Regions from separate parts of the Homo sapiens genome. Here region 2 is linked to region 1. Evidence: promoter capture Hi-C in human tissues and cell types (Jung and others, 2019). All regions are on one chromosome and are shown on one strand. The core of a region is centred on a gene start or on the middle of the fragment in contact, and the rest is flanking DNA. Distances in the headings are between cores, read along the strand shown.

Region 1 (2,669 bases), core at 48-2,547:
GCTTGCACCTGTAGTCCCAGCTACTGGGGAGGCTGAGGAGGGAGGATGGCTTGAGGCCAGAGTTGAAGGATCCAGAGATGATTGCGCAGTGACGCTAAGCTTGGGCCACAGAGTTGAGACCCTGTCTCTAAAAATTTTTTTTTAATTTAAATTATAAAAAGAGAAATGCTTGTTACAACCACAAAGGGAAACAAGATATACACATATAATTGTGGAAGTAAAAATAAATAATTTAAAAATACTTTTGGGTGCTCGCTTCGGCAGCACATATAGTTGGAATGATAGAGAAGATTTGCATGGCCCCTGCGCAAGATGACATACAAATTCGTGAAGTGTTCCATATTTAAAAAAACAAAAAATACTTTTGGGCCTGGCACTGTGGCTCATGCCTGTAATCCAAACACTTTGGGAGGCTGAGGCGGGCGGATTGCTTGAACCCAGGAGTTGGAGACCAGCCTGGACAACATGGTGAAATCCCGTCTCTATAAAAAAATACAAAAATTAACCAGGTGTGGTGGTGCACGCCTGTAATCCAAGGTACTTGGGAGGCTGAGGCGGGAGGATCGCTTGAGCCAGGAGGTTGGGCCTGGGTAACAGAGACCGTCTCAAAAAAATTTAAAAATTAAAAAAAAAACTTTCTGCAAGATGAAGTGACAATACCTGGAAAATACATGTGACTTGACCAAAAATTACTATAGGTGAAAATAAATTTAGCAAAGTTGCTTTCCTAAATACAACCCAAAATAGACTGGGAACAGCTACATACTGTTAATGGTTCCCTCTATGTGACATTCTAGAAAAGGCAGAACTATAGGGAGGGAAAACATCTGTGGTTGCCCAGGAGCTAGGGGTGGGAAGAGGGAATTTACTACAAAGAGGCACGAAGAAACTTGTGGGCCAGAGCTATTTTGGTCTCCGTTTTGGTGATGTATATACGTTTGCCAGAGTTCACAGAACTGCACACTGAAGAAAGATGGATTTCACGGAATGTGAATTATATCTCAACAAACTTGACTTCAAAAAACAGATCGAGAAAAGATGATTCTATTCCCAAAAAGGGGGAGGGGGGAAGATCATTATATAGGTGAGTGTTCATTTAAATCAGAGTACGAGATTTATCCGTGAAAATCGCAGTGGAGCGAACAAGGGGGATGCTGATACCGACCTCCTGGTTGGAAAGCCTGTAGAGCAGCGCGGATGACAGTGGAACAGCGGGTCAGGCGGTGGGCGCCTGAGCGAGGGGCTAGAGCGGGATGGGCGGGCGGAGCAAGCCTGCCAGCCTGGGCGGGGCCTCGGCACAGGAGCTGGCTGCGGGAGCCCGCCGTCCTGAGTCGCAGGCCGAGGAGACAGTGAGTGCGCGCCCTGAGTCGCAGGCCGAGGAGACAGTGAGTGCGCGCCCTGAGTCGCAGGCCGAGGAGACAGTGAGTGCGCGCCCTGGGCGCCCCGCCCCAGCCCCCAGCCCCTTCCCTGGGCCCCCGCAAGGCGGGAACGCGAGCGCCTCCCCCGAGCTGTGTCTCGAGACCTTTGTCCTCCCCTCACCCCTCGGCCCGCTGCCTGCCCTTTACTGGCCCCCTCCCTCATGCCCGTCCCTCAGCACCCTCTCCTTTCAACTAACTTTCCCGCTCCCGACAGTGGCTGCACTTCGTGACGCTGAGATACAGAAGGACGTGCAGGTGAGAGCTGTAGGGCCTGGAATGGCCCAAGTGGAGCCTAGGCTAATGGAAGTCTGGCCTGGCCCGCACCCTGTCCCCCGGGACTCCTGGAGTCGGGGTAGGGCAGGGTCTAGGCTTCGACCTTTCCAGGGAACTGAGGTCGGCCAAGTGGAGGTGGAGGTGGTGACGGAGCCCTCGCGCTGCAGTCACAGCTCTTCTCCCTCTCTACCCCTCACTCCACTGTGGGACGCTGGGTCAGACCTACTACGGGCAGGTGCTGAAGAGATCGGCAGACCTCCAGACCAACGGCTGTGTCACCACAGCCAGGCCGGTCCCCAAGCACATCCGGGAAGCCTTGCAAAATGTACACGAAGAAGTAGCCCTAAGGTAGAGTGCCCTGTGCTGTCCCCAGGAAGACCCCAAACAGCAGTTTTCCCAAAAGATAATGATGCAGGTCACTAGGGAATTAACCCGTAGCCACCAACCCATCAGCTTGCCTTGTCTATTGTAAAAATCCTAAATCTCAGCACCCATCATCTTACTGCTCTAAGAACCTCCGATGAGTCTGGGCGCGCCAGTGAGCCTGTAGTCCCAAGTGCTTGGGAGGCTGAGGCAGAGGATCGCGTGAGCCCAGAAGTTACAGGCTGTAGTGTGCGATCCGGGATGTGAATAGCCACTGCACTCCAGCTTGGTCAACATAGCCAGATGCATCTCTAAAATAAATGCGTACTTTAAAAAAATTGCCTAAAAAAAAGAACCTCCAGCGTGAACACTCTGTAGTCCCTACCCATGCTCACAGAATACAGTCACACTCACTGGATCTGCCATTCAAGATATGCGCAGTTCAGCACCCACTAATCAACCTTGGCCCTTTTGACCCTTCCCTTCCTCACTCCATCAGCACTGCCTGCCCAGCCGGCAGTCACCAATTTGGAAGGTCTTCCCTTTTCTTTTTCCTTCCCAACCCTGCGCATCCAGCACCACGCTGCTGTCCCACCTACTGCATGGAGCCTTCTC
Region 2 (2,669 bases), core at 120-2,619, 160 kb after region 1:
TAAATTTAGAACCTAACACAATGTTAGGTACCAATATGTCATAGCCGGATGAAACTAGAGGGAAAAGAGGCATCTAAGTTGACTTTCACAGTTTCACATTTGACCTTTACAGATGTCATTAGTATAAGGATTAGAAGCAGGGAAACAGGTTTTGTGAAGAAGATGATAGGTTTAGTTTTGGACATGTTGAACTTAAGATGCTTATTGGACAAGAGGAGGAGGAGGACCAGATGGACAGATGGAATATTTTTATATCTGAGGTTTAGATGAGACTGGGATGGTGGAGTATGTAGATTTTAGGGTTTTCAGTCTGTGCTTTATGCTCCCTTTGTTGTAGTTACTCAATTAGTGCATCGTGAAAAGCATATTACCACAAAGCTAATGAAGCTAAAGCTTAAGTGCTCAGATGTGTGGGCTGCTTCCAAGGCCCTGGGAAGACCCCTAGCAAGTTTTACATGTTTATGTGTATTTGTAAATTTTGAAAAATCGGAAAGTTTACTGTGGGCCAAAATTACTCTTTCCACATTGAGTTACCCTCTCTTACTCTTGTGTGTGGCAATGTTGGAGTGGTCCCAAGCATTTTTGGGATTCAGCTGTGGGAAAGTTAAGCTGTGGATATACACTTTGTTTGAGTTTACTGGGATATATCTCTGTGGTTGCAGTCACTTTGATGTATAGTTATTGGTGGCCATCTCACTGCATAAATGATATCCAACAATGTGGATGTCACTCAAAGGTACAAGCCCTGCATTGTATTGAGACAGGAGTGTGTTCTAACACATCTGGCACTGGAATCTGCAAGTAGAAGAGCATGAAATGTGTGAAACCAAAAAGTGGCTGGTGGAAAAACTTTCCACTCACCCGATGTCTTAGCCTGAACATCAGCCTGGTAGAAAGACTTGCATGCAGGGAAGTTTATATGGAGTGCAGTCCCAGGAAGCAGGAGTTCAGGACAAGGAAAGTGAAATGAGAAGGAGGGAAAGAAAATTTAAGGATCTGATAGCGCCTAGGCAGCAGGTGTTCAATTCCACTAGAACCTTTTTAGGAACCTATGGAATGGAATGCTCTCAGAACTGTCTGCTTAAGTACAAAATGCGGGGGGGGCGTGAGGGGATTTATCCCGTTGATTTCTCCCTCTTGTTTGCATATGCATAACTGCAGAATAAGTTTCAAGAGAAATCCTAAGGCAGGAAGTGAAATATTGAGCATTAGCAATGAGGCAGTGTCTGCCTGCACTGATGCACGAGCATGAAGCCACTGCAAGCCTGCGTGAACTAGTCACTGCGGCAGTGGAGGGAGTGAGCACTGGGGCCTAGGGGGTTGGAAGTGGCTTTTTAGAGGTGTCCAACACTGTCAGAGGACCCTATTCCCCTTGATCCCTGGTTGAAATACACATTTTCTCTTGTTAGAAATATATACATTAGGGGCCGGGTACGGTGACTCATGCCTGTAATCCCAGCACTTTGGGAGGCCGAGGCAGGTGGATCACCTGAGGTCAGGAGTTCAAGACCAGCCTGGCCAACATGGTGAAACCCCATCTCTACTAAAAAAGACAAAAAACAGCTGGGCGTGATGGTGCACATCTGTAATTCCAGCTACTCAGGAGGCTGAGGCAGGAGAATCGCTTGAACCTGGGAGATGGAGGTTGCAGCGAGCCGAGATCACCCCACCGCACTCCAACCTGGGGGACAGAGTGAGACTCCATCTCAAAAAGAAAAAAAGAATTACCCTGTAGAATGCAAATTTTTAACAGTACTGCAAATTTCATCCAGAATGCCACTGTTAACATTTGTTTCTAGAGTTTTCTATATATAATTATGATTAATGCAATTAATTACAATGAATACAAATGGGAACATACTATAATATTCTACATGACTTTTTTTTAGAGTAGCCTTTCATAACAATTGATGTAGCTCTTTTTTTTTTTTTTTTTTTTTAAATAGCTGCATAGCATTCTATTGCTGATAGAATCCTACTATATCCACGCTAGCTGCATAGCATTCTAGTGTGGATATTGTAGAATTTACTTAACGGGGCTTTATCGTGGATGTTTAGGTGGTGACTTTTTTCTTATAGAAATATAAAAACTTAGCTGAGTGTGGTGGCTCACGTCTGTAATCCCAACACTTTGGGAGGCTGAGGTGGATGGATTGCTTGAGCTTAAGAGTTTGAGACCAGCCTGGGCAACATGGTGAAACCCTGTCACTACAAAAGATACAAAAATTAGCCAGATGTGGCTACCCATGCCTGTAATCCCAGCTACTTATGAGGCTGAGGCAGGAGAATCACATGAACCCAAGAGGTGGAGGTTGTAGTGAGCCATGATCATGCCACTGCACTCTAGCCTGAGTGACAGAGTAAGACCCTGTCCAAAAAAAAAAAAAGAAAAGAAAAACAGAAAAACTAATTTTTGTCTTCTATACATTTTTTAAATTTATTTTATTTTTATTTTTATGTTTTTGAGATGGAGTCTTGCTTTGTCACACAGGCTGGAGTACAATGGCATGATCTCAGCTCACTGCAACCTCCGCCTCCCAGGTTCAAGCAATTCTCCTGCCTCAGCCTCCCGAGTAGTTGGGACTACAGGCGCCCACCACCAGGCCCACTTAATTTTATTGTATTTTTTAGTAGAGACGGGGTTTCACTGTGTTAGCCAGGACAGTCTC

The links. Contacts are between HindIII fragments. The study calls those that stand out against the background at their distance.
Region 2: a fragment that was not itself captured here is called in contact with the fragment with the promoter of AS3MT in region 1 in 1 of the 25 tissues and cell types used here (liver).

Annotation. Positions count from the first base shown.
Region 1 is chr10:102,868,173-102,870,841 of GRCh38, forward strand. AS3MT (arsenite methyltransferase) reads left to right here and starts at 1,298. Exons shown (of 11, transcript NM_020682.4): 1 at 1,298-1,421; 2 at 1,633-1,673; 3 at 1,912-2,039. The coding sequence starts at 1,421. It overlaps BORCS7-ASMT (BORCS7-ASMT readthrough (NMD candidate)), which reads left to right. Exons shown (of 15, transcript NR_037644.1): 6 at 1,633-1,673; 7 at 1,912-2,039. It also overlaps the pseudogene LOC124902567. The HindIII fragment of the contact is 5,936 bases long and covers 1-2,669 here.
Region 2 is chr10:103,030,743-103,033,411 of GRCh38, forward strand. All of the region lies in intron 1 of CNNM2 (cyclin and CBS domain divalent metal cation transport mediator 2), which reads left to right. Among named protein-coding and RNA genes, the nearest start is that of CNNM2, 110 kb to the left of the region's middle. The HindIII fragment of the contact is 3,923 bases long and covers 1-2,669 here.